3 separate regions of the Homo sapiens genome follow, and regions 2 and 3 are each linked to region 1. Evidence: promoter capture Hi-C in 16 types of primary human blood cells and fetal thymus (Javierre and others, 2016). All regions are on one chromosome and are shown on one strand. Each heading gives the region's core, a stretch centred on a gene start or on the middle of the fragment in contact. The rest is flanking DNA. Distances are from core to core; before and after follow the strand shown. Region 1 holds the start of PADI4 (peptidyl arginine deiminase 4). Region 2 overlaps SDHB (succinate dehydrogenase complex iron sulfur subunit B). Region 3 overlaps ATP13A2 (ATPase cation transporting 13A2).

Region 1 (4,398 bases), core at 1,632-4,131:
GCCTTCTCTCTTCCCTATCCTCACTCATTCCCTAGGGGAGCTGGAGATGTTGACATCTCACTGTTTTATCCTTTTCAGCCTGGTCCTGTCTCTTAAGCTCCGGAATCATGTGTTCAAACGTCCTACAGGGCATCATCACACCAAATGACACTTGGCAAAGCCAGGACCAAACTCCTGATCTCCACCATGCCCACCCCCCGCCCTTCCCTCAGCCTTCCCTGCCCAGCTGCGGGCAGCCCCATCCCTCCAGGGCCTCAGGCTCCAAACTGCGGTGTCCTCCTCCATCCCTCTGTCTTTCTTAACACCCCTCATCCAGTCCCTCTGCAACTCCTATTGGCTGTATTGCATCACAAAATGTCCAGAACCTGACCCATCCTCCCCTCCTCCACTGCCACCACGCTAGCCTGAGCCCCACCGTCTGTCACCAGCCTGTGTGCAGCGGCCACCTCACAGGTCTTCTGGCCTCCTCCCGGGTCCCCTACAGTCTGTTCTCACATCACAGCCAGAGTGATCACGTTCAAGCAAGTTGGTTCGCGGTCCTTCTCTGCTCAAAATGACTCCAGGCTCCCCACGTTACTTGGAGCAGAGGCCAAAGCTCTTAGGATGCCCGAAAGGCCCTATATGATCGCACCCCGCCCTGGGCTGCTCTCCCCCTCCCTCACTGCATTTCAGCCACACTGGCCTCTTTGCTCTTTCTTGAACCCGCCAGGCATGTCCCTGCCTCAGGGCCTTTGTACCGATTGCACTGGCTGTTCTCTTGACTTGGAACCTTCTCCCTGTGTTCCTGGTAGCCTTTACCCTGTCCTTTTTCCTTTTTCTACCCCACTAACATACGATAGAATCCACTTACTGCATTTATTGCTTACTGGCTGTCTCTCTCCCAACAAAAACAAACAAACAAAAAGGCTCTATGAAGGCAGGATTTTTGTCCACTTTGTTCACAGCGTATCCACGGTGCCTGGAACAGTGCCTGGCCATCAATAGGCACTCAGTCAGTATTTGTTGAATTAACAAAACTGCTTTGGGGCTCGTCCTCTTTGTGGCTCGTTCACAGCAAATTTAAACCCCAAACTGCTGAAGAAAATAAGAAAGAAAAGAAGGAACAGAAGAAAACAACCTCAAGAGACCTAAGACTTGGGGTAGAGGCCAGCCCTCCCTCTGATTTGCTGTGTGACCGTGGGCAGGTCCCACTCCCTTTCTGTGCTTCAGTCTCCCCTTCTGCAAAACGAGGACTGGATTGGGTGTTCTCTAAGGGCCCTCCCAACTCTAACAATGGACAGCTCCCTCCTGCCACTTCCCAGTAGAAGCTCAAACTAGTTCTAATCATGCGGTCAGCCAGAGAAATTGGGTTTATTAACACTGTGTGCAGGCAGTCATGTAGATGCGTCAGAACGTCGGACCTGGCCACATCATCATCTGCTGGTACAGAAGATAAATTTTGAGCCCAGAGAAGGTGGTCTGAATCCAGATCCCCACTGTAGGGCTTATGAGACCTTGGGGGTCTCACTCAATCTCTCTAAGTCTTTGTGGTCTCATCTACACATGGGCATCCTGATAGGACGCACTCCATAGGGATGTTGAGATGAGGCAGGATTTGAACTAAAGCCTGTTTGATCCCACAGCCTGACTCTGAATTAATGAGGCAAATTCTTTGCTTCAAAGCCAAAGCAAGCAAACAAAAAACAAACGCAAGATATCCAACCCACGAAACGCTCTATGTTCACGCCAGACTCCCATGCATGCACCCTTTGAGTGCTCCTTGTTGGGACCCATCCACCACCCCCCAGTTGCCTCATTAAAGGCAGAGCCTGGCACCAATGGCCCAGGTGCAACCACAGCTCTGAGGCCACATGGGCATCCCCCTGGCAGGCGTGGCCCACACCTGCACTGTCTGGTCTGACACCCAGAGGCCCTGGCAAGAGGCAGGTATCCTGGAGCATGCAGAGAACATCAACTTCCATGCCAGGAAGCTCATCTTCTCTTCCCAGCTCTGCCGCATTCTAGCTCTGGCACCTTGGGCAAGAGCTAGTCACTTTTACTCTCTGAGCCTCAATTTTCCTTCTGTAAAATGGGTTGTAATAATAAGCCCATATACACCTTGTATTGTAGCGAGATGTAGCTGTGATACAGTCTGGAAAGCACGTGTCATATAGACAGGCAGCTAATGAATCTCACACTCTGGAACTGGACACCTTTGGTTCCAATTCTGGCCCTACCACTCTCGAGCTGTGGAAGAACTGCACCTCTGTTTTCTCCTCTGTAAAATGGGTATAATAATGGCACCAACCTCAGAGGGCTGCTGTGAGGGTGAAATAAGGGGATAATGGTATGATCTAGTTCACGGGTTTGTCGTAATGAGCTATTCTATGTGAAGTGCAGGAAAACGTGCCTGGCATAGAGAATGTGAGCTGTCATGTGGGTGGCCCAGGTGGAGAGACTTGTCCCAAGCCTGGTTGGTCTTTGAACGTGTAGCCTGGCCTGTGACTGCTTACCTAAAATCTCCCCGCTTTTCCCACCTTCTCCTCTCTGATATGCCTGTTTGACATAGGTGAGATTGGATAGATCAAGGTGTTCAGGGCCTCTAGGCAGGGATGGGACTGTGGGCATGAGGACCAGGACCCAACCCCTCAGCCCCACTCTCCACCCCAGGCTTTCTGAGCCATCCATCCTTCCCAAGAAACTGACAGAGCCACCCTGCCACTGGTACCAGCATTGACACCCATCTAGAGGTCCGAGGGGCAGCCCCAGGGCAGAGGAGATTTTGAGAGCCCACACCCCTGACCTGAGTGGGGAGGGGTTGAGCCTCTGGGCCACAGACCGCAGGTGCTGACTCATGGCCTCTGCTGGGCGATATAAAGGAACCAGCCCAGGGGCTTCCTACAGCCAGAGGGACGAGCTAGCCCGACGATGGCCCAGGGGACATTGATCCGTGTGACCCCAGAGCAGCCCACCCATGCCGTGTGTGTGCTGGGCACCTTGACTCAGCTTGACATCTGCAGGTAAGAGGGGGGCCTTCTGGGGTTTTGGAGGCAGGTCAGGAGATGCTGGATGACCCAGTTCTACTGACACAGGAGCATGTGTTTGGCCCAGGCTCTAGGCTCCAGCCTCTGCAGCCACTGCCAGGGGAGTAGCTGGAGAGAGAAGACCCCAGCAGCCCTGGGAAGTGCCAGTCTCATGGCTGTGGGTTCTTTGCCATGTACAAGTGCAAATTCCCCAGGAACACACGACAGATAAATTATTATGGGGCAAACCAGGCCATCCATCTCCCTGTCTTCATCGAGGCAACAGAAGCTTACAGAGAGTCTGTGACTTGCTCAAGGTCACACAGCACGTGTGCCCTGGAAGTAAGGTTAGCCCCTGGGCCTCCTGGTTCACAGCACAGTTTGTTACCCCACATCTCTTAGCTAAGCCTCCCTCAGTGGGTGCATAATAGCGTGGGTGGGGATGGCGAAACGGGGCTCTGTGGCGGCAGAGACTGAGGTAGGAAGCCTGGACCTGCTGCTGGCTAGCAAGGAGGCCTTGGGCAACTGAGCCTCAGTTGCCTCATCTGTGAAATGGGGATAATACTCACATCATGGGCTGGTTATAGGAATTCAATGTGAAAAAATGTGCAGATGTTGGCTGAGTACTTAGCACAGTGGTGGGCCCATCCTTGGTAGTTTTTATTTACTCATTTAACAAATGCTGAGTGCCATGCTCTGTGGCAGGGTCTGGGTTAAACAAGAGAGTTGAGGAATGCTCTCGGGGAGTGTGCAGGGTCATTGTTGTTATTGTAGAACAGGAATTAAAAGAAATTTTAAAACGTGTAAGCAAAAACTCAGTTCTATGTTAAAAAAAAAAAAAACAATTTTCCCTGGAAAAAAAAAAAAAAAAGAGCTGGAGTCCCTTAAAAATTAACTGCCTGTTTTTTTGTGGCTAGTGAGCCTTATTGCTCCTCTTTTTCCAGGCATTGTAAAGACCCTGTTTCTCCAGCTGTGCAGCTGCAAGGTCACTAGACAGATAAACTCAAGCTGTAAAAATTTTTTTCCTTAAAAAGTAAAAAATAATATAATGCATGTCTCAATTAAATAACTGTCTTTGTTTCTTGCCTCTATAATATGCTTCCCCCTGCACAGATCTACCCCCGCCCCATGAAATGCTTAAAAGATAACTTAACTCTTTGTTCAGGGCTCAGTCTTTTGAAATGTTAGCCTGACTGAGCCAGTGAATCTAAATAATAAATCCTCCTCAACCCCTCGGTCTCTCTGATTCCTAAATTATCCTGCAACAATTGCTGTTGTCAGGAATAGGAGTGGTTGCCCCTGGCTTCCCCATCCCAGTCTGGGCATCGGTGGCCCTAGAATGGTGCCCACAGGAGTGCCGGGGACATTTCTTTGCTACTGCCTGAGCCCCAGCAGC
Region 2 (5,026 bases), core at 383-2,882, 270 kb before region 1:
CTGTCCACATTCTTTGCCTCTGTTTACCAGGGTCTTGGAAATTCTTTTTCATGATCTGAGGCTCTTATATATTATATCTGTTGCCATTTCTGCTTCCTCCCTCACTGCCAATAGTAATGTGCTATTTGACTTCTAATTTTGGTAACAGAATTTTAAACATACATGAGTTAAATGTTTACATTAATAAAGGTGGCTATTCTTTCTTTTATAACATTATCTATCACTTTTAAGCCTAAACAGACCACTGCCCTTCCTGAGGTCTGATAAATACTTTACATTTTTTTCTACTTAAAAAAAATTTTAAGTTACTCCCCTAAAACTGCAAAAACTGTATCAGTTGTCCCAAATCACTGACTAAATCCTCTTTTGCTTCTTATTTGTAATACCTTTCTCCCATATTTAATACTGGGAACTTAGATAAAATTGAGTCTGTTTTGTTGCTACATTTTTATTCTAATGATCTGCCTGTTCTTGTCCTAGCATATTTTAAATGACAACAACATCTTTGTTTTTTTTACATTACAAAGGCTAATATTTGCAGCCTATAAAAATTTCAAATTGGCCAGGTGGGTGGCTCACGCCTGTAATCCCAGCACTTTGGGAGGCACTTTGGGAGGCCTTGGCGGGTGGATCATGAGGTCAGGAGATTGAGACCATCCTGGCTAACGTGGTGAAACCGTCTCTACTAAAAATACAAAAAATTAGCTGGGTGTGGTTGCACGTGCCTGTAGTCCCAATTACTTGGGAGGCTGAGGCAGGAAAATTGCTTGAACCCCAGAGGCGGAGGTTGCAGTGAGCCGAGACCGCACCACTGCACTCCAGCCTGGGAGACAGAGCGAGACTGTCTCAAAAAAATAAATAAATAAATAGATAAATAAATAAATAAATTCAAATCAAAGGTAAAAAGTAATCCTGCAGATCATACTGGGACAGAGAAAAATATTAAAAAGTCAAAGTCCTCTCTTTAAGCTGTTTCATGCTAAATTTCCTAATAGGTAGGGCTCATTAAAGAGTACAACATAAATTTTCTCAGATTTTACATAGATACCAAAATTGTTTGATATTCTGGGTCCCTTGCATTTCTATAAGATTTTTAGAATCAACTTGTCAACTTCTGCAGAAAAGGCAGGTGGGATTTTGATGGGGATTGCAATGAATCTGGAAATCAATTTGGAGACCACTGCCTCCTTAACAACATTAAGTCTTCCAACCCACAAACAGGGCATGTCTTTCCATTTATTTATGTCTTCTTAAATTTCTTTCAACAATGTTTTACAGTTTTTCAGCATATAAGTCTTTTACTTATTTGATTTTTGAGACAGGATCTCACTCTGTCGCCCAGGCTGGATGGAGTGCAGTGTTGTGATCACAGCTCACTGCAGGTTTGACCTCCCAGGCTCAAGTGATTCTCCCACCTCAGCCTCCAAGTAGCTGGGACTATAGGCACAGGAAGGTCATCAAGCCCAGCTAACTTTTTTTGTAGAGATGGGGTTTTGTCTTATTGCCCATATAATTTGTTCCTAAGAATTTCTTTTTTGATGCTGTTATATGGAAAATAGTTTTTAAATTTCATTTTAGGATTGTTCATTGCTAGTGTATAGAAATCCAATTTTTGTTTTTTTAACAGTACTTACAGGCTTTTTTCTAGGTAAGCAGGGTTTTACATATATAAATATAAATATTTATATAAATATGAATATATAAATATAAATATTTATATAAATATGAATATATAAATATAAATATTTATATAAATATGAATATATAAATATAAATACATATATAAATATATATGTATACACACACACACACACATTTTTTCTGTAGAGACTAAGTCTTGCTATTGTTGCCCAGGCTGGTCTCAAAACTCCTGGCCTCAAGCAATCCTCCTGCCTTGGCCTCACAAAGAAAGTGCTAGTATTACAAGTGTGAGCCACCATGCCTAGCCTAGAAAAATACATTTATCTGCTAATATCTGCTACACGCCAGTATTTTCAGAAAAAGAATTATGCTGTTGTGAAAATGAAAGAATATAGCTATTTTTTGTGTGTGTATACATAGCTACAAAGTAGGGTTTCAGAGTCGGATTAGAAGGAAATAGAACTATAATTAAAACATGGTACAATATAAAATGAAGACTGACAGACATAGGTTGAAATAAACATGGACAAATTATGCATAATAAAAAACTAAACTACATTTGATTTCTGTATACCAGTTTTGTGTCCTCCAACCTTGCTGAATTTGTTCATTAGTTCTAATAGTTCCTAGGGGGCAATGTCTTATATTTTCTTTTCTTTTTTTTTTTTGAGACAGCGTCTCCCTCTGTTGCCCAGGCTGGAGTGTAGGGCATGGAATCATGGCTCACTGCAGCCTCGACCTCCTGGGTTCAAGTGATCCTCCCACCCCACCCTCCCAAGTAGCTCGGACTACAGGAGTGTGCCACCACACCTGGCAAATTTTTTGAGACACAGTCTTGCTCTGTTGCCCAGGCTGGAGTGCAGTGGCGTGATCTTGGCTCACTGCAACCTCTGCCACCTAGGTTCAAGCAATTCTTGTGCCTTAGCCTTCCAAGAAGCTGGGATTACAGGTGTGTGCTACCATGCCTGGCTAATTTTTGTATTTTTAGTAGAGACAGGGTTTTGCCATGTTGTCCAGGGTGGTCTTGAACTCCTGGACTCAAGTCATCTGCCTGCTTTGGCCTCTCAGAATGTTGGGATTACAGGCGTGAGCCATCGCACCCAGCCTGGCTAATTTTTTGTTTGCTTTTTTGTAGAGATGGGGGTCTCATTTTGTTGCCCAGGCTGGTCTCCAACTCCCAGGCTCAAGCAATTCTCCTGCTTCAGGCCAGGCACAGTGGCTCACACCTGCAATCCCAGCACTTTGGGAGGCCGAGGTGGGCAGATCACCTGAGGTCAGGAGTTCGAGACCAGCCTGACCAACACGCAGAAACCCCATCTCCACCAAAAATACAAAAGAATTAGCTGGGCGTAGTGGCAGGCGCCTGTAATCCCAGCTACTTGGGAAGCTGAGACAGGAGAATTGCTTGAATCCGGGAGGCGGAGGTTGCGGTGAGCCAAGATTGTGCCATTGCACTCCAGCCTGGGCAACAAGAGCGAAAACTCTGTCTCAAAAAAAAAAAATTCTCCTGCTTCAGCCTTCCAAAATGCTGGGATTATAAGCACAAGCCACTGAGCCTGCCCAAGGTTTTGTGTAAAAGATTATGTTATCTATGAGAGACAGTTTTACTTCTTCTTTTCCAATTTCCTTTTCTTTCTTTTTCTCACCCAATTTCCCTGGCTAAGCCTCCAGTAAAATTTTGAATGGCTGATGTTAGCATAAATAGAATTATCTGTAGCCATTGAAATACACACACACACAAATAGTATTTTGCATATTGACCTTACATCCTGCAGCCTTGCTAAATTTACTTATTCTTTTAGTTTTGTAGACTCCCTGAAATTTTCTATGTAAACAATCATGTTACCTGTGACTACAGTTAGTTTAATTTCTTCCTTTCCAAGCTTACATATGCCTTCTACTTCTTTTACTTGCCTTTCATGGACTGGCTAGAACCTTCAGTACAATGTTGAACTCAAATACAGAGTGGACAACCTTCCTTATTCCTGATCTTATGGGGAAAGTGTTCAATATCTCACAATAAAGTATGCTATTAGCTGTGATTTTCACAGTCTTCATCTGGCTGATGAAGTTCCCTTCTTTTCCTATTAGCAGTTATTATTTAAGTAAAATTAGGACTATTCCTTTTAATTCAAATTCCTTATAGTTTTATTTATTTATTCTGTTAAAATATACACACTGTGAAAATTATTTAACCCATTATCATTTTTAAAAATCATGAATGAGTGTTGAATCTTGCCAAATGCTTTTCTGCATATATTAAAGCAATCAAATGGGTTTTCCCCCTTTATTCTGTTAATATGGTGAATCACATTGATTTTCAAATGTATTTCTTTATTTTTTCTTGCGCTTTTTCTTGCACTTAAAACAGCATATGGTTGGGTTTTGCTTTTTTTAAAAAAATCTATTCTGACACTGTTGGCTTTTTAACTGGGAGTATTTAATAGTTTTTACATTCAATACAGTTATTGACGTGGCCGGATTTAGGTCTATCATTTTACTATTTGTTCCATCATTTTGCTGCTGTTCTCTTCTTCTTTTCTTATTCTAAGTAATATTTTTAGACTAAGTAAATATTTTTAGAAATCAATTTTAATTTATATATTGGCTTTTTAGCTATATCTCTTTGCATTTAAAAAAATAATTACTCTTGGCTGGGCATGGTGGCTCACACCTGTAATCCTAGCACTTTGGAAGGCTGATGCAGGAGGACTGCTTGAGCCCAGGAGACCAGTGTGGGCAACATAGTGAGACCCTGTCTCTACAAAAAAAAAAAAAAAAAAAAAATTGGCCAGGCATAGTGGTACATGCCTGTAGTCCCAGGGACATGGGAGGCTGAGGTGGGAGGATTGCTTGAGCCTAGGAGGTCTCAGGGAGGGAGGATTGCTTGGTTGAGCCTGGGAGGGTTTAGTGAGCCATGATTGTGCTACTGCCTTCCAGCCTGGATGACAGAGTGAGGCCCTGTCTCAGAAGAAGAAAAAAAGTTACTCTAGAATTATACTTTACATAATTTACATCTTTAACTCTTTATACCTGTTTAGAGTTACTATTGTGCAACTTTATGTAATGCAAGAATCCTGCTACATTATTATAGGTCTATTTACCTGCTGTTCCCAGCCCCTACGCTATAGTTATCATATGCCTTACATCTATGTGAGTTATATATTACAGAATATAATATAATAACTTTGCTTTAAACAGTCATATTAATTTTAACAAAATTAAGAGGAAAAATCCTTTTATATCTACTATGTCCAGCGCTCTTCATTCCTTTTCTAAGAGCCAAGTTTCCACCTGGTATTATTTTTCCTCAGCCTGACTAACTTCCTATAGCATTTCATGTAGTACTGGTCTTCTGGCCATGAATTCTTTTCTTTTCTGTTTA
Region 3 (4,774 bases), core at 1-2,500, 300 kb before region 1:
GGGACTGTGGGGACGGCTCCAGGCTGGGGAAGCAGGTGAGGGTTACTCTCGAGCTCTGGGAGCTGCCCTGGCACCTCCCTGTGCTCACAGAGCCATCTTCCCTCCCTAGGATGGGAGGCGCCAGAGTCAGCCTTTATGGGGGGGCCGAGGGTTGGGGAAGTTGGGGAGGCCAGGGTAGCAGGGGCTTCTGGGAAGGGGCAATGGGGCTGCCTCACCTGCCCTCGCCGATGGCCTCAGTCTGCACCTGGACAGTGAAGAGCTGCCAGGAACTATCCTGGAACACAGAGGTATGGACTCAGTCTCAGAAGAGTCCCCTCCCCTCCCAGGCCCTGTCCTACAGCCAGGCGGCCCCTGCTGGAGAAGGCAGAAATCAAGGCTATGGAGAGCCCTCCAGAAACCACCCGACCCGTCCCTTCTGCCCAATGCTCAGATGGGAAAGCTGAGGTCCAGAGAAGAGCGGGACCTGCCTAATGTCCCATGGAAAGTCAGTGGCCGGGTTGGCACCCAAGCATCCTCCACCCCCGACCCTGACCCTCACTGCGCTTCTCTAGCCCCAGGCTCAGCCTGACTCTCACCTCTTTGTCTCTTATTTCGATAACGAGTGTTTCGGCGTGGGCCAGGTTGCAGGGCCGGAGCCGCAGCCGCACCCCCCACAGGGGCTTCCAACGGAAGAGCAGCAAAGGGATCCCAGCCATCATCCAGACCACGACGTGATAGCCGATGACCCTCCATGGACTGCCACAGTAGCCGCTGAGCCTCTGCGAACGCAGCGAGAGAGGGCCCAGGTCGGGGTGGGAACGGGGCTGGAGTAGGAAGTTGGGGTGTCTGGGTGGGCCTGGGCATTCACCCCCTGCAGCTTTTCCCCACCCCACTCTGCCCACTTACCACGGATGAAACTGAGGAGCTGAGGGGATCTATTGATGTCCCTATCGTCAGGGTCCCATAACCGGTGGGCGTGCTGCCCACGAGAGGGCTGCTGTCTGTGGACAGAAAAGAGAAAGGTCATTTGGGGAGGCACCTTCTCCTCTTGCTTCCTTAAAAACAATAAACATCAGCCTGGGCGCGGTGGCTCACGCCTGTAATCCCAGCACTTTGGGAGGCCGAGGCGGGTGGATCACCTGAGGTTAGAAGTTCGAGATCAACCTGGCTAACATGGTGAAACCCATCTCTACTAAAAATAAAAAAAATTAGCCGGGCGTGGCAGCGCGTGCCTGTAATCTCAGCTACTCAGGAGGCTGAGGCAGGGGAATCACTTGAACCTGGGAGGTAGAGGTTGCAGTGAGGCAAGATCACACCACTGCACCCCTGCCTGAGCAACAGAGTGAGACTCCATCTCAAAAAACTAAACAAAACAAAACACAAAACAGTAAGCACCTGGTCTGACAGAGCCCAAAGCTCATGTCTTCCTGTGTCCTTTATCTGGCTCTTCTTTCCGTCGGTTCTTACTTACCGTATCTTTTTTTTTTTTTTGAGACGGAGTGTCACTCTGTCACCCAGGCTGGAGTGCAGTCACTTGATCTCAGCTCACTGCAACCTTTGCCTCCCAGGTTCAAGCGATTCTCCTGCCTCAGCCTCCCGAGTAGCTGGGATTATAGGCATGCACCACCATGCCCAGCTAATTTTTGTATTTTTAGTAGAGATGGGGTTTCACCATGTTGGCCAGGCTGGTCTCGAACTCCTGACCTCAAGTGATCTGCCCACTTTGGCCTCCCAAAGTGCTGGGATTACAGGCATGAGCCACCGTGCTTGGCCAGTAGTGTCTTGTTTCCTTGCGTGTGTCGGTCTTTCTGCTGGGTATGGCCCAGAATTGGAGAATGGGGCCTGGACAGTGCCCCAAGCCCCCATGGTGCTCGTGCATCCAGCCATTAGCTTCCTTGGAGCTCTGGGTCTCACTTTTCTATCCTCATCCAGTCCCCACCCTGAGGGCAGGGGTCAGGGATGCTTATCTTCATTCCATGCCCGTGCCCAGCCCAGGTCTGGCAGTGAGGAGATGCAAAGTCAAGTCTGGACTAATAAACGGTCAGCCCTGCAGGCCTATCTTTACAGATGGGTAAACTGAGACTTGGGGAATGGTATCAGGTGGTTCTATTGCAGATATTCTTTTTTTTTTGAGATGAAGTCTTGCTCTGTCGCCCAGTCTGGAATACAATGGCATGATCTCGGCTCACTACAACCTCTGCCTCCCAGGTTCAAGCGATTATCCTGCCTCAGCCTCCCGAGTAGCTGGGATTACAGGCGCCCAGCTAAGTTTTGTATTTTCAGTAGAGACGGGGTTTCACCATGCTGGTCAGGGTGGTCTCAAACTGCCGACCTCAGGTGATCCACCCGCCTTGCCTCCCTGAGTGCTGGGCTGACAGGCTGAGCCACTGCGCCCGGCCACAGACATTCTTTTCACTCCTTCCTCCTGTGCTGTAGAGCTGTGGCCTTAGCAGGGCAGGCAGCCAGTGGATGTTCTGGGGCTCCAGAGCGGGTAGAGCTCACCAGCCCCACCCTTGGACAGCCTCTGTCAGGGTTCATCTACGGTCCCAGACCACCTGGAGCACCTTTTACATATGCAGATGCCAGGGCCCTCCCCAGACTGGCTGGATCAACTCCTCAGGCCGGGGTAGGGATGGTGCTAGGCATCTGTGGTTTCACAAGAGCCTCTGAAAAAGCTCACTAAGCTGGAAAAGCTGGGCGGGTGCGGGGTAGGCTGCTGATTTTCTGGGCTCCCTCCTTCATCCCCCAATCTGAGCCCTTCTAAAATTTTTCCTTTTTTTTTTTTTTTTTTTGAGAGCGAGTCTCGCTCTGTCACCCAGGCTGGAGTGCAGTGGCGCGATCTCGGCTCACTGCAAGCTCTGCCTTCCGGGTTCACACCATTCTCCTGCCTCAGCCTCCCAAGTAGCTGGGACTACAGGCGCCCGCCACCACGCCCGGCTAATTTTTTGTATTTTTAGTAGAGATGGGGTTTCACCGTGTTAGCCAGGATGGTCTCGATCTCCCGACCTCGTGATCCGCCCGCCTCGGCCTCCCAAAGTGCTGGGATTACAGGCGTGAGCCACAGCGCCCGGCGAGCCCTTCTAAAATTTCTACCCAAAGAGTCCAGAGTGCCCCAGGCAGCTGCTGTGGGCACAGCACCCCCAGCCTCTGAGCAGCCCCATCCCCAAGCACTCTGGCTTCAACACTCCTAGAGGGCTCACTGTGCACAGGGTACATGGCTAACGTATCAACCCTGCCAGGTAACCTCGGTTGTGATGTCCTTTCATTCATTCATTCATTCATTTATTTACTTATCACTCTTGTAGCCTCGGCTTCCCAAAGTGCTGGGATTACAGGCGTGAGCCACCATGCCCAGCTTACAGTTTTCGTGTATAAGTCTTTTTTTGAGACAGTCTCTCTCTGTCACCCAGGCTGGAGTGCAGTGTTGCGATCATAGCTCACTGCAGCCTTGACCTCCCAGGCTCAAGCAATTCTCCCACCTCAGCCTCCAAATAGCTGGGACTACAGGCACAGGCCACCATGCCCAGCTAATTTTTTTTGTAGAGACAGGGTTTTGTCTTTTTGCCCATCATTTGTTCCTAAGAATTTCTTTTTTGATGCTGTGTTTCATACAGCAAGTGCCTTTGCCTCTCTGGGCTTCCATTTCTCATCTCTAGGATGATAGTCCCGAAGCATCCAGCACACAGGGAGGTAGAAGCATTTGAAGTTCCTGGGGGGGTTGCGTGGACAGGTGGGCAGGACCCGGCTCCCAGGTCAGGGGGGCGTGGCTTCTGCTTATCCATTTCCCAGGCTCTCTTCTCCTTTCACATCACCCTGTCTGAAGCCCTGGCTGTCCCACGGCTCCCTAGGCCCATTCAACAGTTGCTCCTTGTACCTTAAAACCCTCAGGCCGGCCGTGCGCAGTGGCTCACGCCTGTAATCCCAGCCCTTTGGGAGCCCAAGGGGGGCGGATCACGAGGTCAGGAGGTGGAGACTAGCTGAGACCATCCTGGCTAACACGGTGAAACCCTGTCTCTACTAAAAATATAAAAACCAAATTAGCCGGGCGTGGTGGCAGGCGCCTGTAGTCCCAGCTACTTGGGAGGCTGAGGCGGGAGAATGGTGTGAACCCAGAAGGTGGAGCTTGCAGTGAGCTGAGATCACGCCACTGCACTCCAGCCAGGGTGACAGAGCAAGACTCAAAAAAAAAAAAAAAAACCCTCAGGCCAACAGCCCAGCGGGCTCAGGGATGATGGGAAAGGAGCCATCCCTGCGGTGCTGATTTGATTTCCTCCCGCACCAACCCACAAGGTGGGCTCTCTTACCCAGTTTGACAAACGAGAGCACTGAGCCTCTGGGGCAGTTGCCCTCAGACTTGTCTCAAAGCTGGAACAGGGCTGGCCTTACTCCCAGGTCCTCTCTGCCCAGCACATCTACTCCTGACATTCCCCTCAGCATCAGGCTCAGATGGGTGTCACTGCCCTTACTGCTCACAGTACCTGCCATGTGCTCAGGGGTCAGGAAACACTGATTGACCGACTGACTGAATGAATGAATGTCTGTCTCTTGGACACAACAGAGCTTGAAGGCAAAGGTGCTGGGAGTTGGGGGGAGGGGCTTGAGCCTCTTCCTTTTTTTTTTTTTTTTTTTTTTTAAAAGAGACAGGGTCTCACTCTGTCACCCAGGCTGGAGCACAGTGGCATGATCCTAGCTCACTGGAGCCTTGACCTCCTAGGCTAAAGGAGGTACTCTTGCCTCTGCCTCCCAAGTAGCTGGCACTACAGGCAGGTGCCACTGCACCAGGCTAATTTTTTTT

Evidence for each region. The method cuts DNA at HindIII sites, captures the fragments that hold promoters and counts their contacts. A CHiCAGO score of 5 or more calls a contact.
Region 2: a contact is called between a fragment that was not itself captured here and the fragment with the promoter of PADI4 in region 1, in 1 of 17 cell types (neutrophils). The highest score is 9.7, in neutrophils.
Region 3: a fragment that was not itself captured here is called in contact with the fragment with the promoter of PADI4 in region 1 in 1 of 17 cell types (neutrophils); the score reaches 6.5 in neutrophils.

The regions. Positions count from the first base shown.
Region 1 is chr1:17,305,316-17,309,713 of GRCh38, forward strand. It overlaps PADI4 (peptidyl arginine deiminase 4), which reads left to right and starts at 2,882. Exons shown (of 16, transcript NM_012387.3): 1 at 2,882-2,999. The coding sequence starts at 2,908. RefSeq lists an enhancer at 1-64. The HindIII fragment of the contact is 10,543 bases long and covers 1-3,289 here.
Region 2 is chr1:17,035,010-17,040,035 of GRCh38, forward strand. All of the region lies in intron 2 of SDHB (succinate dehydrogenase complex iron sulfur subunit B), which reads right to left. Among named protein-coding and RNA genes, the nearest start is that of SDHB, 17 kb to the right of the region's middle. The HindIII fragment of the contact is 3,780 bases long and covers 1-3,522 here.
Region 3 is chr1:17,004,799-17,009,572 of GRCh38, forward strand. ATP13A2 (ATPase cation transporting 13A2) reads right to left here. Exons shown (of 29, transcript NM_022089.4): 2 at 886-980; 3 at 576-758; 4 at 216-274; 5 at 1-23. Among named protein-coding and RNA genes, the nearest start is that of ATP13A2, 4.7 kb to the right of the region's middle. The HindIII fragment of the contact is 8,825 bases long and covers 1-4,774 here.